Regions from separate parts of the Homo sapiens genome. Here regions 2, 3, 4, 5 and 6 are each linked to region 1. The links are contacts of gene promoters, found by promoter capture Hi-C in blood cells and fetal thymus (Javierre and others, 2016). All regions are on one chromosome and are shown on one strand. Each heading gives the region's core, a stretch centred on a gene start or on the middle of the fragment in contact. The rest is flanking DNA. Distances are from core to core; before and after follow the strand shown.

What was found. Contacts are between HindIII fragments. The CHiCAGO score rates a contact against its expected background, and 5 or more counts as called.
Region 2: a contact is called between a fragment that was not itself captured here and the fragment with the promoter of MSL3 in region 1, in 1 of 17 cell types (neutrophils). The highest score is 11.3, in neutrophils.
Region 3: the fragment with the promoter of TMSB4X here is called in contact with the fragment with the promoter of MSL3 in region 1 in 1 of 17 cell types (non-activated CD4 T cells); the score reaches 6.7 in non-activated CD4 T cells.
Region 4: a contact is called between a fragment that was not itself captured here and the fragment with the promoter of MSL3 in region 1, in 1 of 17 cell types (neutrophils). The highest score is 6.5, in neutrophils.
Region 5: a fragment that was not itself captured here is called in contact with the fragment with the promoter of MSL3 in region 1 in 1 of 17 cell types (naive CD4 T cells); the score reaches 5.2 in naive CD4 T cells.
Region 6: a contact is called between a fragment that was not itself captured here and the fragment with the promoter of MSL3 in region 1, in 5 of 17 cell types (non-activated CD4 T cells, naive CD8 T cells, activated CD4 T cells and 2 more). The highest score is 12.1, in non-activated CD4 T cells.

Annotation. Positions count from the first base shown.
Region 1 is chrX:11,754,592-11,759,486 of GRCh38, forward strand. MSL3 (MSL complex subunit 3) reads left to right here and starts at 3,646. Exons shown (of 13, transcript NM_078629.4): 1 at 3,646-3,774. The coding sequence starts at 3,673. It overlaps MSL3-DT (MSL3 divergent transcript), which reads right to left and starts at 3,492. Exons shown (of 2, transcript XR_007068393.1): 1 at 2,161-3,492; 2 at 1-929. RefSeq lists silencers at 3,186-3,385, 3,406-3,555, 3,566-3,945 and an enhancer at 3,799-4,093. The HindIII fragment of the contact is 7,532 bases long and covers 1,197-4,895 here.
Region 2 is chrX:10,206,468-10,211,362 of GRCh38, forward strand. It overlaps CLCN4 (chloride voltage-gated channel 4), which reads left to right. Exons shown (of 13, transcript NM_001830.4): 7 at 1-97; 8 at 229-309; 9 at 1,578-2,123. Among named protein-coding and RNA genes, the nearest start is that of CLCN4, 52 kb to the left of the region's middle. The HindIII fragment of the contact is 2,101 bases long and covers 201-2,301 here.
Region 3 is chrX:12,971,900-12,976,794 of GRCh38, forward strand. It overlaps TMSB4X (thymosin beta 4 X-linked), which reads left to right and starts at 3,211. Exons shown (of 3, transcript NM_021109.4): 1 at 3,211-3,269; 2 at 4,347-4,462; 3 at 4,878-4,895. The coding sequence starts at 4,363. RefSeq lists enhancers at 1,648-1,717, 1,728-1,987, 2,008-2,127, 2,251-3,090, 3,930-4,768. The HindIII fragment of the contact is 8,223 bases long and covers 1-4,895 here.
Region 4 is chrX:12,881,140-12,886,034 of GRCh38, forward strand. It overlaps TLR7 (toll like receptor 7), which reads left to right. Exons shown (of 3, transcript NM_016562.4): 3 at 4,373-4,895. Among named protein-coding and RNA genes, the nearest start is that of TLR7, 17 kb to the left of the region's middle. The HindIII fragment of the contact is 843 bases long and covers 1,513-2,355 here.
Region 5 is chrX:12,813,741-12,818,635 of GRCh38, forward strand. All of the region lies in intron 4 of PRPS2 (phosphoribosyl pyrophosphate synthetase 2), which reads left to right. Among named protein-coding and RNA genes, the nearest start is that of PRPS2, 25 kb to the left of the region's middle. The HindIII fragment of the contact is 2,432 bases long and covers 850-3,281 here.
Region 6 is chrX:12,791,054-12,795,948 of GRCh38, forward strand. PRPS2 (phosphoribosyl pyrophosphate synthetase 2) reads left to right here and starts at 359. Exons shown (of 7, transcript NM_002765.5): 1 at 359-566. The coding sequence starts at 445. RefSeq lists a silencer at 615-1,064. The HindIII fragment of the contact is 1,938 bases long and covers 1,169-3,106 here.

The sequences.
Region 1 (4,895 bases), core at 2,396-4,895:
CTGAATACTGAATACATGTGAAACAATATTTCAAATGCAACATCAATTATGTCTACATGTCCATGGAAAAATGCATTCTCACCATCAGAGGTCTGTCTCATCAGTATCACCAAAATTAGCAATAGACAACATACCAGATGCCAATAACCTAACTCTACAACTGCAGGAGGGGCGTGATCAGGATGCTTTTGCTGCATGGAGGTTTATTATGTCACAGAGCAAGAAGTTTGGCGTTAGGCATCAGGATTAGTTAATTTAGTGCGTCAGGGGCTCAACAGCTCCCCAGTGACCCAGGTGAGCGAGTGCTAGCCTTGGGCTCTCATCCTCAGAGCCTCAGTGACGATGGCCAGCTCCGTGGTGCCAAGGTGGCTACAGCACTGACACCCTCTCCAACGCCGCATTCTGATGCAGATGATAACACCCAGTGAGGAAGAGGAGACTTTATGCCAGATGTATTTCTTTTGGGGGGAGGCAGGTGGAAAATATTTTCCAGAAGTACTCACAGTTCCCCATTTTAACTCGCTATGAGAATTTCTCATTGGCCAGGCGTGTATCACATGACCATACTTAAACCAGTCACTGTAAGAGGAAGGGGATTGCCGGGATTGGTTTAGACCAGTAGTTCTCAGCCCCGCCTGCACAATGGAATCGCCTGGGAACTTTGGAAACAAAATTCCAACTCCTGGCAACAGTATTTTAACAAGTTTTCAAAGTTCCCCAGCTGTTCCAAATGTATACCCAGAGGTGAGTCCTACCGTATTAGCCCGATCAAGTGTCACTCCAGCCCTGGTGAGAGGTCTGCTCTAACAATGTGGGATGGCAAACACCTGAACAAAATTGGGCCTCTGCCAGCGGGGCGGCGGGCGACGCAACTAACTGGATCCCGCACTGCACTCACCTTGCTAAGAGAAGCAATTCCTGTAGGTGACCTATAATGAGAAATCAAAAAGATTTGTTATAAGATTTAATGGTTATCTTAATCCCGACAAAAACAAGACCATTCTATAATCATGCCCGAATACAGACGAAACTACTGTCCAAACCTCAAAAACTGGAAAATGAGGAAAACACCTAAGTTGCAATTCAAGAGTGCCTTCCTCTCTGGAGCTTTTTCAGATACTCTCCCTCCTCCTAGAGAGAAGTAAGCTCTTCTGTCTCCTCTATTCCACACCAGCTTTATCAGGGTATGCACATAAAGCTTGAACTTGATTGCTTGCTGCTCCGCCCTCCTGAAATGTGCCCTCTGGGAGGACAGGGGTAATGTATGTATTCTACTTTGTGTGTCTAGCAACCAGCACACAGGAGGTCCAATAAATATTTGCTGAATGAATGAATGAATGAATGGGGGACACGGAGAAACAGATAAGAAATGCCTAATGTCAAGAGCAAATATTTACCCAGCCCTTATATGTCAGGCACTACACAAAGCCATGTACACTGAATTGACTCATTGACTCCTAAAAAACCCTATGAAGTAGGAGCCACTATTTCCTTCATTTTAAACATGAACAAAGTGCATTACAAAGAGACTAACCAGTTGTCCATGGTCACAAGCTAGAAAGTGACAAGCATGGGACTGGGTCCTGGAGAGTGGTTTGCAGAGCTGGCCATGTTCTTAACCTTTACACCCGAGAGGAAAAATGATGTCCTGCATTAAGGGTGGAGCCCTCTCTAGTGGATCCTAATCTGGAGGAGGACTGTAAGGGGTGCTGCCATTGGCAGGCTTTTTAACTTTTAGGTTCCTGAAGGCTTTTGCATTCTTGGACTTTTTAGAGGGACGGGGAAAGAGGAATTCCTCAATGACATAAGAAGGGGTGGAAATGCGGAGAAACAAAGGAAAGCATCTAAAATCCTATCCCTGAAAGGGTAGAGCCTGCAGCAGAACTCTCTCCAATCATGGGCAGGAAAAATAAAAAGGTGAATACTTCAGTTACGGTTTACACAGGACGTGCAATTACATGTGCTTCCAAGCCGCCCCTGCCATTTGTGGGGAACACCACCATCTACTGTTCTCATCTCTGATACACCACAACCTGGAGAGGAATCATGGTTCCAGTTCTAGTTTCTGCACCGTATTACCCCAAAGGCCATTTGACCATCTTCCCCCAACCTTTAACTCCTCTGTATAGCCTTATTCTGGCGGATGCAGCTATTACTCACCCAATTCCTTGGGCCAGAAAACCTGGAAGTCTCTCAAGATTCCTCCTTCCCTCTCCTTCACATCCAATTGGCCACTGAGTTTTGTGGGTTCTATTTCCTAAATCAATCTGTTCATTCATTCCATATTATGTGCCACGAATACGCCGTGATGAATTGGATAAGACCCCTACCCCCAGCTTCAAAGAGCTTACTGTCTTAATGAGGTCATTTTGCAAATGAACAACCCATTCTATAGCACAGTGGTACATGCAAGAAAGGGGTTAAGCAGAGTCCTGGGAGGGAACACCTCAGGGCTTTATGATTCATCTTGGGAAGCCTGAGGGCTTTTCTGTTGGCATGCCCACGCTGAAATGTGAAGGATGTATACCAGGAACCTGGTGAAGGAAGCGTGCAGAGGGGAAGCAAATGCAACTTTCTGGAGGCTAGAACAGAGAAGGGGAAGTTCACCAGGTCCGCAGAGATTAGCCTGGAAGCTGGTCTCCAGCCCGGTCCTAATCCAGTAATTACACTGCCCAACGGCTTTCCAAAACTCAAAAGAAAAAGCCCAGCACTGTCCTTCCTGTCCCTGGAAGTTTGTCCTTCAAGTCTCCCATCACTTGTCATTCGCTCATCAAGTATTTACTTAACATCCACTCTGTGCAGGTACCATATTGATAGCGGCCTCAAGGGTGCTTCTATTTAGGGAATTTTTAGTCTATTGGAGCAGATAGACCGTGGGGGGCATTCCGGGGATGCTGGGGGCTGTCAGGCCACGCTAGAAGCTGACACTGAAGACGTCAGCTACTCTTTAAGGACCCATCTGCCTCGCTGCCCACTGCTCAACCCGTCACTGGGGGCTCCAGGCCTGCCACCGGCTTGTCCTCTGAAGGGATAAGCAAGTGTTCTATTCACAGCCCGGAGTGCCCTTCTGCCCTCGCCCGAGGCCACTGCCCGCCTGGGGCCAGCTCCAGCGCTGCGTTCTCCAAGCGTGGCCACACTCATCGGCGCGCTGCTCTGCCAAGGGGGCTGACGCGGCGCGCACGGCCAGGGAGCTCTTGGGGGCAGACGCCGTCCAGCCTCCCGGCCGCCGGGTGCCTACTCCAGACCGGCTCTCTCTCTCCCTAGGCGCCTCCCACGCCCGGGCCGGAGAGCGGGCGCTCGGGGCGACGGACGACCCTGCGCGCACGTGGGCGCAGCCTGGAGGCCGCGGGGACCCTCTCCCATGGGGGCGACGGGAGACGTCCTGCCGGTAGACCTTGGCCAGGGGGTCGCGCTCCCCGCCCGCACCCCTCCCGGAGCCCCGGCGGGGACGTGCGGGGACGCGCCCGGGCGGGAGCGCGCGCGCCAGGCGCCTCCGAGGTCCCGGCAGCGGCTCGGGGCGGGCGGAGGAGGGGCCGAGGGCGGGGCGGCCGCAGCCTCCGCCATTCCCGGCCCCCCCCGGCCACGGCGCACCGCCTCCCCGCCCCCGCCCGCCCTCCCCCACCGCGCGCGCTCCGCCCGCCCCGGAGCCTCGCCCTCCGCCACGATGAGCAAATGAGCGCGAGCGAGGGCATGAAATTTAAATTCCACTCAGGGGAGAAAGTGCTGTGCTTCGAGCCTGACCCCACCAAGGCGCGAGTGCTGTACGATGCCAAGGTGCCGCCGCGGAGGGACAGGGAGGAGGCGCGGGCTGGGGGACCCGGGACCGGGGGCGGGGGCGGGGGCGGACGGCCGCGCGGAGCTGAGGGACCGGCCGGGCTCCTCGGCCTGCGAGGAGCGGTGCGGCCGGCAGGGGGCGCTCACAGGGCGCTACGCCCGGGAGTCGGGGCGGGGTCTGGGATGCTTCCACTTCCTTCCGTCAGGCCGGGCGGCGCACGCGCGGTTGGGAGCCTCGCCCATGCTTTGTCGCGTTACCGGGGCTACCGTTTGCGCCCCCGACTGCAACGGTGGCCGCTGAGGGAGGAGGCTTCTCGAATACGGTTTCTGTCTTCGCGTTAAATGTCTCCTTCTGTGCGGCCTGGTGCCGGGTGGGCTCCTGTGGGACGCCCTGGCCGTCCGATCCAGGTTCTAATTCATAGTTACACGGCGCTGGCCGCTGACTTGCGACGTTGTGTCCCTGGGACCCTAGTCCAGTTTAGGCCCCATCCCGCCTGTAGGCCGTGAACCCCATCCCGAGGGCAAGGTTGGCCCAGTGTTTTCGTACCCCAGGGCCTTGCAGCATTTACGTTTTCAAACTCTGAAGGATTTACGTGGGTCTGACCATAGTTGATGGGAATCGCGCCCCGGGCCGGTCCACCTAAGTCTCCGGGAGCTGAGCCACATCTTGCAGCTCCTCAGATTTGGGTGGCGGGCAGGAGTTGGCACCAGGTCTCCCAGATCCCCAAGGAAAGCACCCAGGTGCTTTCATTTCAGAGACCTGGGTTCCTAGGGCCACCTGGGCGAAGCCTTAGGCGGCAGGGACAGGGGCAGTCCCAGGTGTGTCTTTGGCGATGTCTGGACAGCTCTGTCCATTAGAGATGCTAAAGGACATCCCTAAAGGGATGAGCATATTCTGCCTTCAGTTCCCTCCCCTGCTGCTCCTGTCTTTTAACCGCGTCTGCTATCCCTCTTTCTCCTCGCCCTCCAGCCTCCTCGGGGCGGAGGGGGGGGGGCACGCCCCATCATTAGTTTTAGTTGTTCCCTCTAGGGACACAACAGGGAGGGATTCCAGAGTCTCCAGCTAGCCATCCTGGCACTGGACATAGGGGAGCCCAGGAGACTACAACTCCCAGAGCTCT
Region 2 (4,895 bases), core at 1-2,500, 1.6 Mb before region 1:
GAAGGAAGGGCCGCTAGTGCACGTGGCTTGTTGCTGTGGCAACTTCTTCAGCAGCCTTTTCTCCAAGTACAGCAAGAATGAGGGCAAGAGGCGGGAGGTGAGCCAGCTCAGCTTCCATCTGCAGCGAAACTTTCTTCTCAAAGCCCCCTCCTGCTGTCTGACTTGCAGGTTTGCACGTTTGTTTTCATGGAAGGCCTTGAAGCTTATGTAGAACTATTTGTTTTGTAGGTGCTTTCAGCTGCAGCGGCTGCTGGAGTCTCTGTTGCCTTTGGTGCACCAATTGGAGGCGTGCTTTTCAGTCTAGAAGAGGTGAGAATGGGCAGCTGAGGGAATTCGTGATTTTGAGCAGCAAGGCCCGTTGAGGGTTAGAATCAAAGAAGTATTGGATAAGATTCCGGCAGTTAATTAAGGAGCCACAATTTCCACTGTTTTTTTTTTGTTTTGTTTTTGTTTTTGTTTTTGTTTTTTTTGAGACTGAGTCTCACTCTGTCACCCAGGCTGCAGTGCAATGGCGCAATCTTGGCTCACTACAACCTCCGCTTCCCGGGTTGAAGCAATTCTCCTGTCCCAGCCTCCTGAGTAGCTGGGACTATAGGTGCACGCCACCACGCCTGGCTCATTTTTGTGTTTTTAGTAGAGATGGGGGTTTCACCATATTGGTCAGGCTGGTCTTGAACTCCTGACCTCAGGTGATCCACCTGCCTCGGCCTCCCAAAGTACTGGGATTACAGGCGTGAGCCACAATACCCGGCCACCAGCGATAAATTCCTGTTTTCAAGTATTGTTTCAAAAATTGCCAAGGTGATTTTTTAAAAAGATTTACAGTATTCTCCCTCTCATAACCAACTTAATTAAGCATTTTTGATTTTGGTAACCCAAACGGGTTATTCCAGGGGTTGGCAAACGTTTCTGTAAAAGGCCAGGTAGTAAATGTTTTTGGTTTTGTGGGCCATGCAATTTCTGTTGTAGCTGCTCAGCTCTGCTGTCATAGCATGAAAGCAGCTGTGAACAATACGTACACAAATGGGCATGTCTGCATTTCCATAGATGTTTCCTTATGGGCACTGAAATTTGAATTTTATGGTTTTCACATGTCACAAAATATTGTTCTTCTTTTGAATATTTCAAATCAAAAGATTTTTTCACCTTTTTCAATCAATTAAAAATGTAAAAACCATTCTTAACTCATGTGCCATACAAATGCATTCACTGGGCTGCACGTGACTTGCAGCCCAGAGTTTTCCAAACCCTGATCTACTCTGTTTTCTGTAGAATCCAATCCAGAGGTTTATTTGCTTCTAGGGGAGTCTCTGTGCCATGAACAGAATTATGATTAAATACTTTTCTCTTAAAAATATAGCCCAAACCCACCTTGATTAGTGTCCATTCCACTTCTAGACATAGTTAGATTCCTCCAGGTATCTTTGCTGATGCGTTTTGGTCACATTAAGTCCAGGCTCATGGAATGAGTGTGTCCACTCTTGGACTTAGAGTGTGACTTTCCTGCCAACCAGAGGGCTTGGCTCTGAGCAGCTCTTTCTCCGGCCAGTCTTTAATTTTCCACTTTTTCATCTCAGGTCAGTTACTACTTTCCCCTGAAGACCTTGTGGAGGTCATTTTTCGCAGCCCTGGTGGCGGCCTTTACGCTGAGATCCATCAATCCCTTTGGGAATAGCCGTCTCGTTCTCTTTTATGTGGAATACCACACGCCCTGGTACATGGCTGAACTCTTCCCCTTCATCCTGCTTGGGGTCTTCGGGGGCTTGTGGGGAACCCTCTTCATCCGCTGCAACATCGCCTGGTGCAGGAGGCGCAAGACCACCAGGCTGGGGAAGTACCCGGTGCTGGAGGTCATTGTGGTGACTGCCATCACTGCCATCATTGCCTACCCCAATCCCTACACACGCCAGAGCACCAGCGAGCTCATTTCTGAGCTGTTCAATGACTGTGGAGCCCTTGAGTCTTCCCAGCTCTGTGACTACATCAATGACCCCAACATGACTCGGCCTGTGGATGACATTCCAGACCGGCCGGCTGGTGTCGGTGTTTACACGGCCATGTGGCAGCTGGCCCTGGCACTGATCTTCAAAATCGTCGTTACCATATTTACCTTTGGCATGAAGGTAAGTGAAAGGGAAGGAAGATGGGGTGGGGACCCATGTCCTTCTGGGGACAGCACCCTACTCTCTAAAATAAAATTGCGGTGGGAAAAAAAGGGGAACTGGCCTTTCTTGAATGTTCTCATGTGCCAGGCACTTGACATTCCTTTAATCAATAGGAAATAACTTCTAATAAACAATAAGCTTATGAAATAGAGATTTTAATCCCATTTTACAACTGAGGAAACTAAGGCTCTGAGATCTTAAGTGGCTTGATCAGACCCACAGCTTATGGGAGACAGAGCTAGGCATCAAACCCACTTCACACATTCCCAGAACAGGTGGTGGTGACCACAGGTTTCCTGCCGCTGGCCAGGTGATGCCAGGTGGTGGAAAAAGCCCAGGTTTGGCTCAGTTTGGCTCATTAAACATGCATTGAGTATCAGCTGTATCTTAGGCATCGTGCTAAGTCTGAGGGATACAGAACCCAAACAGAAAGCTGCCCTTGCAGAGCACACAGCTCTGGGAGAAAGAGATGCAGACCTGGAGTTCTGACATTGTGATGAGCACCACGCTGGTATGACGGGAGCACAGAGTGAGTGTGTCCCCCGTCTGGGTAGGGCTGGGCATGACAGGGGCTCTTTGCACACATCCTCTTTGAAGAACAGAGCTGTGGATGACAGCACATGCTTTCTTTTCCTCCTCCCTCCCTCCCTCCCTCCCTCCCTTCCTTCCCTTCCTTCCCTTCTCTTCCCTCCCCTTCCCTTCCCTTTTCCCTTTTCCCTTTCCTCTTCCCCCTTTCCCCTTTCCCCCTTCCCTTCCTTTCGTCTTGTTCCCAGGCTGGAATACAGTGGCATGATCACAGCTCACTGCAGCCTCAACCTCCTGGGCTCAAATGATCCTCCCATCTCAGCCTCCCAAGTAGCTGGGATCATAGGCGTGAACCACCACACTTGGTGATTTAAAAAAATTTTTTGTACAGATGAGGCTCTTGCTGTGTTGCCCTGGCTGGTCCCAAACTCCCAGGCTCCAGTGATCCTCCTGCCTCAGCCTCCCAAAGTGCTGGGATCATAGGCATGAGCCACCACACCACACCCAACAGCACATGCCTTCATTACTCTTGTTCCTAAAGCCAGAGAAGAGACAGCTGGTTTCCTCTTTCATTGTGTTAAAATCATTTGTTAAAATCATTATGTTAAAATACTTTAAAAGCCCCTCCTAAAGAACTTTCTTTTATGGAACCTGGGATTTTGTTATTATAGCTTTTTTTTTTTTTTTGAAATGAGGTAAAACCCATAAAACATAAATGATCATTTTAAAGTATACAGTTCAGTGGCATTACATACATTCACAATATTGTGCAATTAACACCTGTATTTAGCTTTAGAACATTTTCATCCCCCAAACGGAAATCCCATCTCCATTAACAGTCATTCCCCATTTTTCCCTCCTGCAGCCCCGGCAACCACTAATCTGTCTCTAGATTCGCCTATTTTGGACACTTCATATAAATGATATCATATAATATGTGGCCTTTGGTGACTGGCTTTTTTCGTTTAGTGCAATGTTTTCAAGGTTCATTCACATTGTAGCATGTGTCACTACTTCATTTTTATGGCTGAATAGTATTCCATTCTATGGAGATCCCACATTTTGTTTATCCACTCATCCTTTGATGGACATTTGTGTTGTTTCCACCTTTTGGCTATTATGAATAATGCTATCATTACTTACTTAAAGAAACTTTTATTAGAGTATATCGTTCATATAGAGAAGTGTACAGCTTGATGGAGTTTCATAAAACACACACACACACCTGTGTAACCAGCACCCAGGACCAGAAGCAGAACATTATCCACCTCCCAGAGCCCCCTTTTGTGTTCCATTACTATTGCTTTCTGTGTGGCATTTCTATGAATTGTCTTTTAATTTTATTTATTTTTATTAAAAATATAAAATAGAGACCAAGCTCCCTATGTTTCCCAGGCTGGTCTTAAACCCCTGAGCTCCAGTGATCCTCCTGCTTTGGCCTCCCAAAGTGCTAGGATTACACACATGCGCCATTGTGCCCTGCCTGAATTGTCTTTTTTTTTTTTTTTTTTTTTTGGAGACAGGGTCTCACTCTGTTGTCCAGGCTGGAGTGCAGTGGCACAATCATGGGTCACTGCAGCCTCGACCTTCTGGGCTCAAGTGATCCTCCTGCCTCAGCCCACTGGGACTACAGACACGTGCCACCATGCCCAGCTGATTTTTGTATTTTTTGTAGAGATGGGGTCTTGCCATGTTGACCAGGCTGGTCTGGAACTCCTGGGCTCAAGTGATCCGCCTGCCTTGGCCTCCCAAAGCGTTAGAATTACAGGCGTGAGCCATCACACCCAGCCTGAATTGTCTTTTTTTTTTTTTTTTTTAAATTTAATGGTCGGGCATGGTGGCTCATGCCTGTAATCCAAGCACTTTGGGAGGCCAAGGTGGGTGGATCACTTGAGGTCAGGAGTTCAAGACCAGCCTGGCTAATATAGTGAAACCCCATTTCTTCTAAAAATACAAAAATTAGCTGGGCGTGGTGACACACGCCTGTGGTCCCAGCTACTCGGGAGGCTGAGGCATAAGAATCACTTGAACGCAGGAGGCAGAGGCTGCAGTGAGCTGAGATCACGCCACTGCACACGGGCCTGGGCGACAGAGCGAGATTCCGTCTCAAAAAAAAAAAAAAAAAAAAAAAGAAAAAAATTCTAAGAAGTTGTTTACTTGAGTGTGTCATAGTGGTCAAATACAAACCTGAATTTGGGCCTTAAG
Region 3 (4,895 bases), core at 1,961-4,460, 1.2 Mb after region 1:
CTTATCTTTCACCAGAGAGCCCCAAGGCCAGAGTGCACCATACAACCCGGAGTCACCCAAGGCCTTTTTTTTTGGGGGGGGGTCTCACTGGGAACAATGTCTGCACCCATTGTAAGCAGTTCCTTTGCCCCTGTGTGCCTCTGTCTTTTTAATTGGGATCGAAAACTGCTACCTCAATGGTAGTTGTGCCCGGCACATACTAACAGACTTATAAATGTAGCTGCCTGGGGCAGGGATGATCCTGGAACATTCTGACATCTAGAACATTAAGACTAAATGGATTTAATTATCTGGGGAGAAGAAAGCAAGACAATTAGAGTCACAGGTTCAACACCTGAGTTCAAGTACCTCCCTCATTTAAGAAAATCAATTCATGGAAGGCTGAGGCAGAGAATGGCTTGAATCCGGGAGGTGGAGGTTGCAGTGAGCCGAGATCACATCACTGCACTCCAGCCTGGGTGACAGAGCGAGACTGTCTCAAAAAAAGAAAAGAAAAGAAAATCAATTCAATGCAGTGGGAGAACTGTTATTGAGCAATTACTATCCACCAGACGCTGTGGAAAGCACAACTGCCTAGCTCCTCACACTCTTCCTGGTGATTCTCGGGTACAGACTAAGAGGATGTGGGGAGGACTTTTACATGCTCTTGGCATATATAACAGAGTGGCTACCAGCTGAGGTAACCCAATGATGGCTCTCTAAGCCTCAGTTTCCCCATCTGGAAATTTCTTATGGAAAGGCGGTGGGAAAGAAAGGAAAAAACAAATGTAAAACTTACGTTACAATGCCTGACTCTTAGAAAATATCAACCGACAGGAGTTGTCATGTTTTATTTGCTGTAAAACTACCAAAAGATCTTCTATCAACATTTTGTAAGTGAAAATAATAATATATATTCATATGTATTAATTATATAGAAATAATATATAATAATATATAAATGTCTCTATAGGAGAAATAATATCAAGACACCTAAAATTTTTAATTAATTCTAAACACTAAGACAATTATTTTATTATTTTTCCTCAACCTTCCATCCTAAATCATACGAATAATAACAATAGAAAGAGCTTACTAATTGTCATGCACTGTCCGAAGCATTTACTCCTCCCAACAACCCTGTGAGGTCGGTGTTGCAATGAACCCATTTTACAGATGAGAAAACTCCAGCACAGAAAGATTCATTCACATGGCCAGAGTCATGCAACTTTTAAGAATATTCCTTTGGTTTGCATTTCCTTGTATCTGCACCACCCTTCCCTTTCCTGTCTCTCTAGGTCTCCTGACCGGTTGGCAGGTCAGTCCCAATCATGGGAACTCTTTTCCTTTAAGCAGTCGTCTCTCTTTCTCTTCCTCTCTGTTTCCACCTGCCCTCCATCAGTGTCTCAGCACAGTGGAAGGCTGCTTGCTACCGCACTGGAAAACTTCTCCAGACATTTCCAAGTTTGCATTCGTCCATCTCCTTTGGAGAATTGCTTCAGTGAGGCCTAACCCTTTCTGAGGAAAGGCCCTTGGGAGAAGAAGCCAGGAGAAGGTAGTGGCACTCCTTTGTCATCAGGAGACATTGGGAGGAAAGAAATGATTTTCGACAGCAGCTGGGTGAGGGGAAACAGAATCACAGAACCTGCGGAAACGGTGTCGGTACAACGGCAGCTGCCAGCTAAACGGGCGAAAAGGCACCCTGCAAGATCTTTTCTGTGTTTCAACGATGAAGTAGACTCCCAACATGGAACAGGGGCGGGGGGGCTGTTACCAGACAGGTGACATTTGGTGCATGCACGAACAGGTCCAGTGCCCCATTCGGAGGCCAGGAAGGCAGCCACCCAGCAGAGCATTAACTAGGGGACCAGACGGTCACCTGCCCCTGCTCACCCCCACCTCCTTCCTCCCCAGGAAAAAGGAAGTCAAGTAGATGGAGAAACGGGGAAGTCCAAGCTGCTGGCAGTGGCATTCAAGGGTCTATATATAAGGTTGACTCTAATCCCCAGCGAGACAAAAGCCTGTGCCATAAAAATGATTAGCAAGGGGTTTCTAAAAACATTTCCCCAGGCCACGGAAAAGGAGAAGGAATATTTTGCACACTGCCTTGTCTCTTAGAAATAATCACAGCTAGGCCTCTTTATAACCGGCGAGTCTTTTTCCTTTCACACGCCATTTGCAGGCGCGTGGCATGGTATTTGTAACTAATTTTCAGTAGCAAGTGGGTCACTGGTATTCACAGAGTCAGGTGCCATTTTGAAAACTGCTTCCCTCTACCCGAATCTCTTATATTTCCAGATGCAGATGCACTTCAGCGATGTCCTAGTGCTGGAAACGCTCCCTTGAAAATATAATTTGATTTTTGAATTTCATCTTAAGACATTAGAGATAATGTAACTGTAGTCTTTGGAATTCAACGCTGGCCTCCTTAGCCATCACTTTTAAAATTTATGAAAATAAGGAAGAGGAAGGTAAAGAACTTCCTCATTGTCCGGCAGTAAAGTCAATGGCAGAGCTTGAGCTTGACTTATTTTGCTAAGAGGGAGGTGTTTTACCCTATAAACTCCAAATTACCTTACACCCAGCAAATACTACTGTTGAGTGCTCACAAAAATTATGCTGATGAAACAATATGGATGTTTCAGTGATGAAACTTTCTCTTTTAAAATCACTTAAGGGTGCTTTACGTCCCACCCAAGGCAAGAGGAACGCCAGCGAGGAAGACAAAGAGGCCCGGGGTGGGGCGCATGCCCGCCACTGGACTGAAAGCTGAGTCACAGGAATCGTACCCCTGCAGCGGGCCAGGCCCTCCAGGGAGGGACACCGCGCCCTTGTGTGGAGATGTCCACAGTAGACAAAGGCAGTTTCGAAATAAAAGAATGCCTGTCACCCCAGGTGCCACCCCGACCCTTAGTTATTATGCACTGGTCCCCAAGAGCAATTTCTGCGCTGCTGTTGCAAAAATTCATCGTAATGAAATAAACGTAAAAGGGGAAAATGTGTTATGAAGTGTTGGAGGGTGCTTTGCTCATTTTTTTCGCCATCGTTGTGGTTAGGGTGCATGCACTAGTGGACCCCGGGTGGGGGTGGGGCTCCCCTCCCCAAAAGCCCGGCAGGCCTCCGGATGCCGTTCCGAGACGCGGCGCGAAGGAGTTAAGCGGGCCGGCGGGTGACATCACCTCATTTACATAGGAGCGCCCATAAAGCTGCGCCCGCCGCACCCCGCCCGACAACTCGGTGGTGGCCACTGCGCAGACCAGACTTCGCTCGTACTCGTGCGCCTCGCTTCGGTGAGCCCCAGGGCCCCTGCCTCCTTCCTCCTGCCGTCCTGCCTCCGTCCCCGCCCTTTCATCATCCGCGTCCCTGTGAAGGCATTCCCTAAATCCGAGCCCGAGTGGTTCTCCCCGGGAAGGCTACTTTGGGGAGCTGGGGGGATGCGAAACACCCTAGATACTGGATAATGGGGTGGGGAAATCGATGATTTAAGAACAAAACCGAAAAACTGGCGTTTTGCCGTGCCGCTCGGAGGGGACATTAAAAAATTTCTTAGTGTTTGCCCGCAAAGGTATTGTGCGTTGCCTTGGAGGCTGAGATATGGGGGAATAGACAAGTCCTTTGTTCTGAGGTTCATCTTCCGAGCCCCGAGCCTCCTCCCAGCCTCGGACGGCTGCGCGGGCTGCATCTGTGCAGCCTGGCGGCGGCGGGGCTGTGCTATGACATCTTTACAGTCCTTCTTGCAGAGACATGTGTGCCAGGGATGCCGAATTGCCGGGAGAGCAGGCAAGACCGGCTTCGGGGCGCGCGGCGGCCGCTTTGTGTGCGGGGCTGCATTGTGACGCGGGCGATGAAGCCGGTAGGGCGGTGGTCGGAAGCTCCAGCCGCGGCCGCCGCCTTTGTGAGAGGACTAGAAAGCCGGATCCGGCCCGCATCCTTGCGGAGAGGCCGCGGCTAGGAAATGGAAACGCTTTTCCTACCTGGGCTCCATTTTAGGAATTCTTGCCGATTTTTCCCACTTGAATTTGGAAGTGGCTTTCCTCTTCTTTCCTTGTCCTAGCCAGCCTTTAATTTTAAACGCTGTAATTAACAATTCGCAGTGGTCAATTTCCTTTATTCTGCAAGATTCGGCTTTGAGAGGCATCCGCCCTCTTTGGTCCACAGCGTTTTGAAATATGGGGAGGAGGGGCGCGGGGGGTGTCGCCTCTTTTTCTGTAGAAAGAGGAAGCTCGTGAGCGCGGAACGGCAGCAGTAGGAGAGCGAGAAGGGTTTTTTTCAGGCTGCGGGTCGGAGGGCAGAAGTGCAGTTCCCAGCCCAGAGACAGCGGGGCGGGTGGCTCTTCCTCACGCTCGCTCTTGGCTTGCTCCCTGCAGCTTTTCCTCCGCAACCATGTCTGACAAACCCGATATGGCTGAGATCGAGAAATTCGATAAGTCGAAACTGAAGAAGACAGAGACGCAAGAGAAAAATCCACTGCCTTCCAAAGAAAGTGAGCTCCGACCCACCCCCATCTTTAGAAAGGCTGGGTGGGAGCGGCCGGTGGGAGGGCGGGAGGCTGGGAGCGGCCGCGGGAAGAATTCGGGAGGGGGGAGTGCGGGGGAAGAGCCGACAGTTGATGAATGTGGCTTGCAAAGGTTAATTAAAAATGGTTTTGCAGCCAACAAACACGGGGCTTTAGTAATTTAGTAATGGAATATTTAATATGCCATATTAATATACAAACATTTATCCATTAAAATGTATTTCTATTTAGTATATTCAATATACATATTTTATTCCATTGTGGAATACCGTGTAGAATGTTTATGATTTGAAAAGATGCTTTAAATGAAAGCCCTTTAGTCTGTACTGAATCCTTTAATCATCTCCCTCCATCTTTTTTTTTTTTTTTTTTCTGGTCACAGCGATTGAACAGGAGAAGC
Region 4 (4,895 bases), core at 684-3,183, 1.1 Mb after region 1:
TCGCTTGAACCCGGGAGGTGGAGGTTGCAGTGAACCGAGATTATGCCATTGCACTCCAGCCTGGGCAATAAGAGCGAAACTCAGTCTCAAATAATAATAATAATAATAATAATAATAATAATAGTCTATAATTCCAAAACCCAAAACTGAAAGCTTTGTCCTAACTCAGTTGATTGCAAACATAATATGATCTGAATGCATTTGGAGGTAGATCTTGACCTGAACTGAAGTTATTTATTCTTTTTAATAAATAAATGAGTTATTTATTCTTTTTAATAAATAAATGAGTCATTTATTCTTTTTAATAAATGAGTTATTCTTTTTAATAAATAATAAACTGAGTTATTTATTCTTTTTAATAAATAATAAATAACTGAGTTATTTATTCTTTTTAATAAATAATAAATGAGTTATTTATTCTTTTTAATAAATAATAAATAACTGAGTTATTTATTCTTTTTTTTTTAATAATTCCACTTAGAGTGGACAATCCTATATGTCACTGCAGAAATTTTGTGTGTTTGATTATGGAATGCTGCCCCAGGCCTCAATAGTTATTACATAATTTAGGGTACATGTAGCGTATTACCTTCTAAAATTTGAAAAATTCCGAATTCCAAAACACATGTAGCACCAAAGGTTTCGGATAAGGGATTGAAGACCTGTAGTATCCATTATTGTGAGGATTAAATGAATGAATATATGGAAAACACTTAAAATGATGCCTGGCATGTGGTAAGTGCTACGTAAGTTAACTACTATTACTATTATTATCACTATTCTTACATGAGAAGATATTTAGATAAGTTGGTCAGGGAAAGCCTCTCTGAGGATGTGTCACTTGAATAGGCAACTAAGGGGTGGTAATGACCGGGCTGTGGGAAGAGGAGGAGAAAGATGATTTCAGGAATAGGAAACAGCAAGTGCCAAGACTGTGGTGGTTACAAGGCTGGCTTGAATGCAGAACAGAAAACAGACCAGATGGCTGATATGTGGTAAAGGAGGGGAAAGATGGCTCAAGGTCAGAGAGGTAGGCTGAAGTCAGAACACCCTTGATATAAGCAATGGTAGAGACTTTGGATTTCATTTAAAGTGTAATAGGAAGACATTATAGTTGATCTGATTCAGGTTTATAAAGAACGCTCTGATGCTGTTGGATGAATGAATTATAGAGGAGAAGGGGGAGCAGGGAGAGCAATTTGGAGTCTAGCATAGTGGTCCAGATGAGACCTAATGACTAATTGGAGTTGGGAGGTGGTAATAGTCAAAGAGAAAAGTGGACAGGTGCGAGAAAAAAGTTTAGAAATAAGTGGGGGGCGGGGGAGGTTTTCTGATTAATTTGCATTCTAATTTATAATATGTCACTGTGTAGAGGCTAAAAATTTCACAGTCATTGTCTCAGGTGTGTTAAGGCCAGTGGCGTGCTGGACCCCACTTGAAATTGGCCATGGAGGGAATATTTACACTATAGAAATTGACAAATGCTACAAATCAAGACAACAAATCAGGCAAAGCTTCTTGTTAAACATTTACCATCACACCACTGGTGAAGGTGACTTGATTTTTCCACAACTAAACTTCCTTCATTTCACAGCCTCCATTTTCCCTGATCACGAAAACACTTAAACTAGGCACATCCTCGGAAACGCAGTATGAGGACTGCTGTGTCAATCACTTCATGTTTTTAACTCAATTCAGCGATCCTCCCACTTCTTCCCAGGCTCTCATTTAGGTACATGGGAATGGGATGGGAAGAGGGACCTGGTTCATGATTGTCATTTACCCACCTTGGCCCCCTCTGAAGTACAACTCCACTCTCTGCTTTACAATATCACTCTGGGCAGCATTACCAATTGCCTCCTGATAGTGGGATCTATGAACCCATTATGTCTTTGGACAAAAGCATAGCCAGGGGTTGGGTCCAGGGCCTGGGATCCTATAACCGTACAAATCCTATTATCAGGGACTATAAAATCCTATTATCAGGGACCATAGCCATCCCTCTATCTTGACTCAACTCCTCCTCCCTGAGTAGTGAACATTTTTCCTAAATCTCTGAGAAAGACTGGTGCTCTAGAAAGATGTACCATATTTATTTAAGGGCTTCCTGTACCCACTGGCATATTGCCATATATTCTGAGGTATCTGAGTGCTCCTTTTGAGAAACATAGCCTTAAAGGATAAGTAGAAATCTGGTGGGTGAAAATGGTAGGGAAGAGGACTTCTAACGGAGGGACTTGCAAGTCAGGGAACTTGGGTTTATCGACTAGTGAGGCTAGTAGAGGAATTCAATCAGGTAAGCCGGACAAGTAGACAGGGTACAAATTATGGAAGACTTTGGATGCCATGATAAAAAGCTTCAGCTCATACTGTAAAAAATAAAATAAAATAAGAAGGTTGGGTGCAGTGGCTCATGACTGTAATTTCAGCACTTTGGGAGGCTGAGGTGGGACGATCGCTTGAGCCTGGGAAACAATTTCAAGGAGTTCACAGCAAGAAACTGACTGATTAAGGTTTGGGAAGCTTGATAGATAGGGTAGACTGGGAAAGTGAGAGAGGAGGCTTTGGAGTGGACCAAGGATAGAGGGATCTCAGCTGATATTATGTCAGCTAAAACCTCAAAGCAAGGAGGATGTTAAGAACAATGAAGGAGGTCAGCTGGACTCTCAATGTTTTTAACGATAGGGAGGAAAAGATAGGGGGGTGACAAGAAGAAGAGACAATTTTGTACCTCTAACTCCAACAAACTTTAGACCTGAAAAATCCCTTCTGAGCCATCTTGCATTGGAGAAAAAAAATTGCTTATTTACCTCCAATTAGAGGAATTAAGGGAAGTAGGATTTTTTTGTTTTTCTTTTGAGACAGGGTCTTGCTCTGTCACCCTGGCTGGGGTGCAGTGGTGTGATCACGGCTCACTGCAACCTCAAACTCTTGGGCTTAAGAGGTCCTCCCAACTCAACCTCCCGAGTAGCTGAACTACAGTTGTGTGCCACCATGCCCAGCTAATTTTTTATTTTCTGTAGAGAGAGGGGTCTCACGCTATGTTGCCCAGGCTAGTCTTGAACTCTGGCCTCAAGCGATCCGCCTGCCTTGTCCTCCCAAAGCGTTGGTATTAGAGGCATGAGCCACCACATCTGGTGGAAGTAGGCATTTGGTTTCTTAGATAACAACATGATTGGTTGATTCAGTCACTTGGGAAGATAAAAGCATTAACTGAGCTAGATCCCTATGGTAGAGACACAGGCTGGACCACTCCATGCGTAAGTACTAAACTAAAACCAGTGTTCTGGAGTAGACATTGCTAGAAATCCTGAAACTTGAGAGCCAGTCCACGGTTAAAGCATTCTGTAAGGCAGAGCCAGTGGAAGGTAATAAGGTGATTTTTAAAGCTCTTCTGCACTTCCCATATTCCCTTTTAGGGCCTTTCTCCCTAGGGTCCCAGTGTCTGTCATGCTAAACCTAGATGCACAACAATCATCTTTATGGGTAGTTTCCCATATGTCCCAGTTTGCCTGACAGACTCTTGGTTTATGCCTATAGTCTTGGTGTAATTATTACCAGCCCCACTTCATTCTTGTAAGTATACTAATGGATCAGTTATACGGTTCCTCTGATTATGTATCACCTAGGCAGTGCCCTGACTCTACTACTATCTCCTCTCCAAATTTATGTAATGTAAACCCAATGTGTAGGGAAAATGCTCATCCTAAAATCTCCTTGGAGGGGATAATTTGCAAGATTCTTTGCAAAAACAATCCAAGACAAGAGCCAGATTATGGAATGTCAGTGCCAGAATGGCAGGAATGTATGTTTTCTAATCAAATGCCACTTACTACTGGGTAACCTTGGGCTAATCAGTTAATATTGCTGAGCGATGTCTTCATTTGTAAAACGGGAATCTTAGAATATTCTGAGACTCAAATACTATGAAAGACTCATGTAATGTGTACCAGGGCAGGTTTAGCAGGCCGACATAAATTGCACTAAAGTCTTCATGTGTTATTTTTCATGGGTGTATCCATATTCTAACATTTCTTCACCCTCCAAATTTCAGACTTTGGCAGTGAATCTATGGCTCTGCAATTTTAGTGTTCCATGTAACAACGAATAGGAAAATGCTGCTTCTACCCTCTCGAAAGCTATTTTGCTAAAGAGCTAAGATGCTAAAAGCTAAATATGTAACTAAATAGTTGCAAATCTCAGTAACTGACAAATACAGTCATGGGGTTGGGGATGCTGTTTAGACAGCTGAAAATAAGACCTGAATTGTTTATTTTTAAAATGTTGCAAAAGAGAGGCAGCAAATGGGAATTTTTAATTCTGATTCTTGGTATGTTTTAGAACAATGATTTGTTCTTTCTTATACTTTCAGGTGTTTCCAATGTGGACACTGAAGAGACAAATTCTTATCCTTTTTAACATAATCCTAATTTCCAAACTCCTTGGGGCTAGATGGTTTCCTAAAACTCTGCCCTGTGATGTCACTCTGGATGTTCCAAAGAACCATGTGATCGTGGACTGCACAGACAAGCATTTGACAGAAATTCCTGGAGGTATTCCCACGAACACCACGAACCTCACCCTCACCATTAACCACATACCAGACATCTCCCCAGCGTCCTTTCACAGACTGGACCATCTGGTAGAGATCGATTTCAGATGCAACTGTGTACCTATTCCACTGGGGTCAAAAAACAACATGTGCATCAAGAGGCTGCAGATTAAACCCAGAAGCTTTAGTGGACTCACTTATTTAAAATCCCTTTACCTGGATGGAAACCAGCTACTAGAGATACCGCAGGGCCTCCCGCCTAGCTTACAGCTTCTCAGCCTTGAGGCCAACAACATCTTTTCCATCAGAAAAGAGAATCTAACAGAACTGGCCAACATAGAAA
Region 5 (4,895 bases), core at 816-3,315, 1.1 Mb after region 1:
TGGGACGTTTCTTGTGGATTGTCTACAGTTTTGCATAGACGAGATCACAGCTGTTTCTCATGTGTGTTGCAAATATTTCTCCAAGTTTTTTCATTTCTTCTCCTATTTTGTATTTTTATTCTCTGCAGGACTTTAAAAACCTTCTTACGTAGTCAGGTTTATTTTTTCTTCACATTATGGCTTCTGAGTTTATGTAGGAGTCATCCTTCTCTTAAAATTTGTCTTCTCCCATGATTCTGTATATTTTTTTCTTTTTTAATGTCCCAAGTTTACTTCCATCTGAAATTTATTTTGGAATAAAGAATGAAATAAGAATCCAGCCCCCCCACCCCCGACTCTACTGTCTAGTTTTTCCAAAACTATTTATTAAATAATCCACCTCTATTGATTTGAAATGGCATCTTTCATCATATACAGAGTTCCCCATTTCAAATAGATAGCTATTTGCCAACTCCTACTTTTAAAAAAATGCAGAATAAAGTAAACAGAATAAATGGCTGGGGTTGAGATGCTGTTTTGTTTTGTTGAGACCTCCTTTCAAGCAGTCTGCACTCAATCACCCCTGCTCCCTCTGCCAGGAAAATCAAGCTTTTTAGGGAAGTACATTTCAGAATTTTTGTCACCTCCTTTCTCTTTTCCAAGTGTTTCTGCTACACATTATTGTCATCCTCATATTCTAGCCCCCAACTGACAGTCTCCTCAGAACAGCCTTGCGGGTAATACATGACATATGCAGTTGACATTATCTGTGACTTCTTTGCTTGATGCAAAAGGTCATAGTTAGCAAAATAAAATACTGTAAATTTCTGTCTGACCAATTGGAGCTTGTTGCTTTAGAAAAAGCTTTGAAGCTTGACTCGTTCCGGGTAAAACTGAATGTTGCCACAGGAGGTCACTCTTGGGTAGGCTTTGTAGCTTGGTTGGGTTGACCACGGAAAGAAAATTAAACCTAAGAAACCTACCTACCACTGCTGAGATAGCAAGTGTCAACCTAAAAGTGGTATGGGAAGAGGGTAAAACTAGATAACTCAGATTTAACTTTTTTTCTGATTACATAATCTTTGAAGATGCTCTATAGGAAATTTGGAAAGTAGAAAGAAGAAAATCTTAACACTTTATATCTCAACCAGTGATGCCACTATGAATAATTTGGTGTACTATGTATCTGTCTCTCCTGGGGGAGCTGATATGGCACATGCACCCACAGAGAAAAGATTGTAAATATGTGCCCAGAAGAAATCCAAAACTGTATGTATATAATTTTCGTTCTGCCTTTTTCTGCCTAAGATTTCAGTGTGGTATGTTGTGTCAACATCATTTGTTAGGAGTATGTATTAGGTCTCCATGATATACAAGGAAAAGAAGAGTTACCTATAGCTTTTTCAGGAAATCATAGCGTTCTAACAACCCAGGAAGCTGTTTGCAGGGGTATTTTCTCTTATCTTCTTCTTCTGACATTACCATTGGATACCTTTTAGTGGCTAGGGCTCCCCACTCAAGTGAGATGTCTGTGTCCCCCACTGCCAAGAACCACAGAGCTCACCTTCTTTCCCAGTCCCACTTCCATGCCTACCCTGCTGTCTGCTTGTGAGCAGGCTCGTGAGAACAGGCGCCACCTGGCAGAGAGATGAAAACAGGTTCTGCTTTAACTTCTCCGGTATAGAACTTCCACCACAAAGGGCAGTGCTTCCCAGTGCTGGGCTGTGGATTGGTATCCTGTCATGCCCAAATCTGCCTAGTCGTTACCAAATAAGCAGACGGTAATGTATGTGGACATTTTGTGCGAGGTGTTCATGTGTCTTGGGAAAACCTGTCTCATGTTCCCAGAAAGTAGCTTTCCTTACCTGGAGTTTGAGTGGCTTTTATGACATTGGCATGTAGATAATAGAACTGTACGTGTTTTTTTGTTTGTTTGTTTTTTGAGATGGAGTCTCGCTCAGTCGCCCAGGCTGGAGTGCAATGGCGTGATCTTGGCTCACTGCAACCTCCACCTCCCGGGATCAAGCGATTCTCCCGCCTCAGCCTCCCAAGTAGCTGGGGTTACAGGCAGCCACCATCATGCCCGGCTACTTTTTGTATTTTTGTAGAGATGGAGTTTCACCATGTTGGCCAGGCTCATCTTGAACTCCTAACCTCAGGTGATCCACCCACCTCGGCCTCCCAAAGTGCTGGGATTACAGCTGTGAGCCACCGTGCCTGGCTGAACTGTAGGTGTTTTAAGGTGATGATGGAGCAAAATTTTTGTTGGCCTTTAAATTAATTTTTTTAATTAAATCTTTAAGTAAGGAAACTGTTGACAGCTAGACAAGTTTACAAACAAAGGGTATCTGCTAGGGCTACTGTGGTTTTGGTTGCATCCTGAAGAATGAGTGTTTTAAGGGTAGGATGAGTGTTCTAAGGGTAGGAGAAACATGGACCTCAATATAGTAATGATTCCCTTTGCTTCAAGGACGTTGATGTCTTATTCTCTTATCTCACAGTCTCTGTGTTTAACTGGAAAGTTTGGTCCCTTTTCTTTTATGATAATTGACATAGTTGGATTTATGACCACCACCTTACTATGTGGTTTTTTTGTTTTTGAGACAGAGTCTTGCTCTGTTGCCCAGGCTGGAGTGTAGTGGCGCGATCACAGCTCACTGCAGCCCCCGATCTCCCAGGCTCAAGTAATCCTGCCACCTTAGCCTCCCAAGTAGCTGGAACTAAAGGCGCATGCCACCATGCCTGGCTAATTTTTGTATTTTTTGTAGAGATGGGGTTTTACTATGTTGCCCAGGCTGGTCTCCAATTCCTGGGCTCAAGTGATCTGCCTGCCTCGGCCTCCCAAAATGCTGGGATTATAGGTGTGAGCCACCATGCTTAGCTACTATATGCTTTAGTTTTTCCTTCTCCACAAAGTAGACATTATTATTATTTTGGTTTTGTACAATCAACATTTGTTTAGATTTGTCCACATATTGATCAATATCTTTGCTTACCTTTCTCTGCCCCTGCCCCTCACCACATCTCAATGTATCTGTGGTGATTTTCCTTTTGCTTAAGTTGCATTCTTTAAGTGGTTATATGTTAGAAATAAATTCTCAGGTTGTATAGTTTGGCTGAAACTATCTTTATTTTGCTCTCCTTCTGGAAAGGCAGTTTTGCTGAGTATAGACTCCTAGCCTGAGAGTTATTTTCTCATATCACATTGAAGATATGACTCCATAACTTCTGGCTTCCATTGGGGAAGTTGAGGACTTGGCCATCCTTACTAGGTGACTTGTCTTTATTCTTTGTCTCTTTTAAGCTTTCTTGGTCTTCTATAGTTTTGTTAAGATTGTTTGGGAATTCATTTGTTGGGTTTATTGGATCCGAGGATCCTCAGATCCAATAAACCCAACAAATCATCAGGAAACAGTTGTCAGAAGACATCATTGGTCCTGTGTTTCCTACGGAAATAAAAAACAATAAATATTGCACTGAATGTTTGTGGTTTGGTGTCCCTGAATAATAAAGAAGGAACATATTTGCAAAAAGTTGCATAGGGTTTTTTTATGCAGAATTTTGTCAGAAGACAGTGGTGCTGCCATGTTTTTCTTTGAGTGCAAATGTACATTGCTAAGATTTTTTTAAGATGGCATGTGCTTTGAAAAGAGGATATTGCATTTTTAAGAGTTTAAAAATCTTATGAGTGAGAAATATTAAAAAATCTTATTTTCCCCTCTTTACAAGAAATAAAAGATGTTCCTCATAAAAAAAAAAAAAAAAAAAAAGGAAATATTAGCCGAATAGGTTATACAGAGTTACCATATGACCCAGCAATTCCACTCTGAGGTATATTCCCCAAAGACTTGAAGACAGGGACTCAAACAGATACTTATACACCAGTGTTCATAGCGGCAGTATTCAGTATAGCCAAAAGGTGGAACCAACCTGAGTGGCCATGAACAGATGAATGGATGAACGCAATGCGCTGTATCCACCCAATGGAATGTTATTCAGACTTAAAGAGAGATGAAGTACTCATCTATGCAGCCGTGTGGATGGACTATGAACAGTTTATGCTAATTGAAAGAGGCCAGACACAAAAATGCACGTATTTTATGATTCCATTTATACAAAAAGTTCAGAATAGAGACAGAAAATAGATTCATGCTTGGCAGGGCCTGGGGGGAGGGGAGAATAGGGAGTGCCTGCTTAAGGGGTGTGGGGTTTCCTTTTGATATCATGAAATGTTCTGGAACTAGACAGAGATAATAGTTGTGCAATGTTGTGAATGTACTTGATGCCATTGAATTAATACACTTTAAAATGGCTCCAAGGATAAATTCTGTGTTATGTATATTTTACCACAATTGAAAAGAAACACTGGCTGGGCACAGTGGCTCATGTCCGTAATCCCAGCACTTTGGGAAGCTGAGGTGGGCGGATCACCTGAGGTCAGGAGTTCGAGACCAGCCTGGCCAACATGGAGAAACCCTGTCTCTACTAAAAATACAAAATTAGCCAGGAGTGGTGGTGCATGCCTATCACCCCAGCTACTCAGGAGGCCGAGGCAGGAGAATCACTTGAACCCAGGAGGCAGAGGTTGCAGTGAGCCGAGATTGTGCCATTGCACTCCAGCCTGGTCAACAAGAGTGAAACTGTCTCAAAAAAAAAAAAAAAAAAGAAAAGAAAAGAAACACTGGTTGTGTTGTGAAAATCCTCAGAAATAGGGAGGGGAGCCTGGAGCACCTAACTGCCCTTCCCACTGCCTTCTCAGCCCCAGAGAGTGTCCCCTCTGTCCTTCATCAGAGCACGCGAGGAGCTCCATTCCTGGTCGTCATCTGAGGATGACACAATGAGTAGGACTAGGACTTTAAAACTAGTGTGTGGAGGTTATATCCTCCATGTACTGCGTCTTAAGTTGGGCCATGTGT
Region 6 (4,895 bases), core at 888-3,387, 1.0 Mb after region 1:
CGGTGTTCCGGGGTGGGAAGTCGCTCCGGGCTGCGAAGCACCTCGAGGGATCCCCCCGGCCCGAACTCTCCCTCTGTGCCCAGCTAACCGCGGTTCATTGGCTCTCCCCGCGAGGCAGGTCTGGAAGATCAAGAATGAAGCTCGGAGCTCTCTCGCGGAGCAAGGACACCTTCGGGCTTCAGGACCACCCAGGGCGTCCAAAACTGCTGCCAGGGCTGTGCCCCCGCCCCCCGGCACTTTCCAGCTCCCCCTCCACGCCCGCTCTTCCTCCCTCTCTGCCCCCTCTAGCTCCTCCTCCGGCTCCTCCCCCTCCGCTCCTCCCCTTCCCTACATCTAGCCGCCGCGCTTTCCCGCTCCCGCAGCAGCAGCCTCCCGCGTCGCTGTCGCTGTTGCCTCCGCCACCTCCTCCGCCGCCGCGCGCCCCTCGGAGTTCCGCGCCCCACCATGCCCAACATCGTGCTGTTCAGCGGCAGCTCGCATCAGGACCTGTCCCAGCGCGTGGCCGACCGCCTGGGCCTGGAGCTGGGCAAGGTGGTCACGAAGAAGTTCAGCAACCAGGAGACCAGGTGGGGGCCGCGCCGGCGGCCGGGCTAGGGAGAGCGCTGGGCACGCGGCTGCGGGGCCGGGTTGGGGGCCGGCGCCTGCCCGGGCCACCTCCGCGGACGCCGCGCTCCCCCTTCCGGGGCGGGACGGTGGCAACGCGGCCTCCGCGCCCCCGCGCCCGCGCCTGCGAAGAAACCGAGGCGGGGCGCCGCGCGTCCCGATGCGCGCCTCGGCTGTGCCCCCGGTTGCAGGGCCTCCGGTCCTGGGACCGCGGCGACCCGGCGGTCCCGAGCCGCTCCCGGCCTCCCAGCGGTGCCGCCCGGCCTGGCGTCCCCAGCCCGGAAGGGAGACGTCTGGGCGGTCACAGACCGTCGGGGAGAGAGTGGGCGCAGCGGGCGGGAACCGCATCGGGTCAGCGCGCGGTGGAGAGACGTCCTGGGTTGGCTGGTCCCAGTTTCCGCGTCCCTACAAAGCTGAACCTCAGACCAGTGCGTGCGACTAAAGGTTTCCCCCCGTCCCCAACTCTGGTTGCACGCTGGGTTTACCTGGGGACGGTCCGAACGCTGCTTCCCCCGACCTGCCCCCAAGGGTTTGATCCAACGGGCGGAGGATCAGCGATTTTACAAGCTTCCCTGGCTTCTCCTGAGCAGCCAGGGCGCAGACCACTGCGTTATCCAGAGGGTGCAGTTGTGCCAAGGTTTGAAAGACTGTGAGAACCCCAGGACGCACGTGCTGGGCTCCCCTCTGCTCCCACTACTCTTGCTGCTTTAAAGATGATGGACTTTCAGCTTCCTTCTTGTTCTAGGACTCTGCTGTGTCCAGCAACAACGCCGTGATTCGACTGTAACTTTCACCCATTTCTCAAGTCCAGGAGAGCCTCAGGTGGTGGCCATCCTCGGAAGCTGACCTGGGGGGCTCCTTTGTCTATCTGCCTGAGTCCACACAGCTCCTTGACTCATTTCAAATTGGTCTCATTTTTCCCCCTTCTTCCTCCAATGTCTAGTACCGTTAACTGTCCACAGTTACTGATAATTTTTATATCTTTGGCAAAGGTTCAATTTTACCAACATTTTCTAGAAATGGTGTTGGAACAGTTGGACACCCATATGCCAAAAAATATGAACTTCCATCCATACTTTTCACCATTTGTAAAAATTAACTTTGAAGTGGATCATAGACCTAATTGTAAAATCTAGAACTATAAAATTTCTAGCAGAAAATCTTGACTTGGGGTTAGGCAAAAATTTCTTAAGGAGGAGTTATGTTAATACTGATGGGGAAGATGCTATATTTTGGCAAGTCAGCTTTTTAGGATATGTGAATCTTACGTGACTTCTTCCAGGTGGCAAATTCCAGTTATGGCTCCGATGATAATATAAGCGAAGAAACATTGTGAATGAGTGGCAGGTGGACTTTGGCTAAAGAATTCCACTCTGCAGTGTTTAATGCAGAAGTCTGAGAGGATGGTCTAGGGCTCTGGAGAAGGATAGAGCTAGGTTTGAGTGTTGCAGTATTTTGCCAGTCTTGTTCAAGTTTCAGTCGCTGTAAGAACACGAGAAGAAGAATAGTTTTTGTTCAGAAGGTGTCGTCATATAAGTAAAGGAGAAATTTGTTGATGAAGTAAATTTTGAAAGCAAATATGTTGCCCTTCCAGGTACTCAGTGCAGCATGATCTTTTGCTAAGGAGCATGGTTAATCTAGATCAGTTCACTGCTAAGTCAGTGTTGAGTTTCTCCTAAAAATACCACATGTGCCACTGGGCAAAACTCACTCAGACACTGAAGTATGATTGTTTATACATTTGGTTCAAATATAAAGCAGACTCACTTTTATTTTGTTTTTGGCATTTTATAACCATCACTTGATAATTAGAAATCGTGGGACCTCAAAAACCACTCAGCATGAAGTTTGGGAATTGCCTATATAGCTACATTTTATGTTTTTAATGTATAGAGTATAAAAGGTTCACTGCCTGACTTTTCTCTTTTCCATGAACTGTACAAGTACAGAGCTTAATTTTTATAAACAGCCCTCTCTGGACCAGTTACTGTGCTAGGAATCCAGCTTTTAGCTGTGTAATCGTAGAGAGGAAAAACTGAAGGGCAAAATGAAGACAAAATTGATTCAGTTCATGTAAGGGCCCCTTCTTGAATCTGTCACTGAACTAGGATCAGAAATCTGGTTTGCTGTCTCCTGGCCATCAATCCTCCCATTTTGCGTTTTTTATATGCTACTTTACTGAACATAGAGCCTTCCAATTTTACCTTCTTATCCCTAAATCATTTCAGATATGCAGGGAGAGGTCCGCTCCAGCTTCACTATAGACCATGGAAATTCCATGATGACATCTTAGGACAGCAGGTGTCTAGATGTCTCTGTTGTAACATTTTACTATGGTCAGTTAACCTGCTGGCAGAATCTTTAGCTATACTGTGAGACAAGGTTATGCAAAGTTATACAAGGTTATCGGTTACCATGTAATAAATAAAGAGCTTAATGGCTTAAAACAGTAATTGTTGATTTGGCTTACAAATCTGCAATTTGGGAAGGGCTCAGTGAAGAAAGCTTGTTTTTGCCGCGTATGGTCACAGCTGAGGCTGGTCACAGCTGAGGCGGCTAACTGGGGCTGGAGGGTTCTTGAAGATGGCTCACATGACTGAAGTTGTTACTAGCTTTTGCCTGGGAGCTTGGTTAGGAACCTCAGCTCCTCTTCTTGTAGGCCTCTCCATGGGGCTGCTTGAGCTTCCTTACAGCATGGAAGCTGGGTTCTAAGAGCACATGTTCCAAAAGACAGGACATTGAAGCCACCAGTCCATTAAGGACTGGGCTTGCAAGTTGGTGTATCATAATTTCTGTCATATGCTGTTGGGCAAGTACAGAGCCCTCTCAGATTCAAGGGCGGGAGACTAGACCCTGCTCCTTGATGGGAAATGTGTTAAGAGTCTGTGGCTATCTTTTAGTTACCATGCCCGTTTATTGTTGAGTCAGTGACGCTCTTCAGCGTTTTTATTTGGGGGTCAATAAAGATCCTCTGGCAGAATGGCAAATGGATGCTGCCTTCTAGCCACAATTTTTTAAAGACCTAGAATAAAGGTAGTCATGATCATCTTTTTGAGTAGAAGCAGGACTAGCTTTAGGGGAAAAGTTGCCATGGTGATGATATTCTCTGTCCTCCCCTGGACTGCTAGTCATATGAGAACTGAGGTTCCTGAGTAAAAACAGGCCAAAGAATCTAATCTTGTGGGATAAACGTCATAAGACCAGGAGTTGGCAAAGTTTTTCTGCAAAGGGCCAAATCGTAAATATTTTAGGCAGTGCTAGCACATGTAGTCTCTGTTGCTGCGGTATCTTACAGTTCTGTAAGTTACGGTAATGTCTGTCACAGGTTAGCAGGGCTGTATTCTCTTCTGAGGCTCTAGGGGAGAATCTGTTCCCGTGCCTTTTCCGGTTTCCAGAGGCAGCCCACATTCCTTCACTATTGGCCTCTTCACCTTCAATGTCAGCAACAAAATGTTGCTCTGACCCTGCTTCTGCTGTCTCCCTCTTGCATTTTTAAGGGCCCCATGATTACAATGGGCCAATTTAAATAATCCAGGATAATTTCCCCATGTTAAGGTCAGCTGATGAGCAACCTGAATGCTATCTGCAAATTTACTTCCCCTTTGCCATATAAACTCACATATTCAAAGGATTAGGATGTAGACATCTTTAGGGGGCCATTATTCTGCCTACCACGCCATTCTTAACTCACAGGCCATAGAAAAACAGCCTATGTGCTGTGTTTTGTCAACCTCTCAGCTATATAATACTGTACTTGATTTCTGCTGTAGTTCATTTTGTGCTGCTATAACAGAATACCAGAGACTGGCTAATTTATAAACAATAGAAATTTGTTTCTCACAGGTCTGGAGGCTGGGAAGTCCAATACTGAGGGGCTGGCATCTGGCAAGGGCTTTCTTGCTGCATCATCCCATGGCAGAAGGGTGGAAGGGCAAGAGAGCATATTTGAGAGAGAGCAATAGAGGGCCAAATTTGCTAATATAATAAACCCATTCTCAAGATAATGAGCACACTCTAGCAATGATGACGTTAATCCGTTTGTGAGGACAGAGCCCTTATGACCTAATCACCTCTTAAAGGTCTCACCTGTCAATACTCCTATACTGGGGATTAAGCTTTCAACACATGAACTTTAGGGAACACATTTAAACCATAGCAATTTCCAAATTAAGTTTATGTCATAGTTGATGTAGTGTTCACAAAGCAGTTAGATTTAGCTCCTTAGATCTTCAAATAGGAGGGAGCACATAGAACTCTTTCTATCCCCCTCATCCTGTGAGGTTGGCATATTT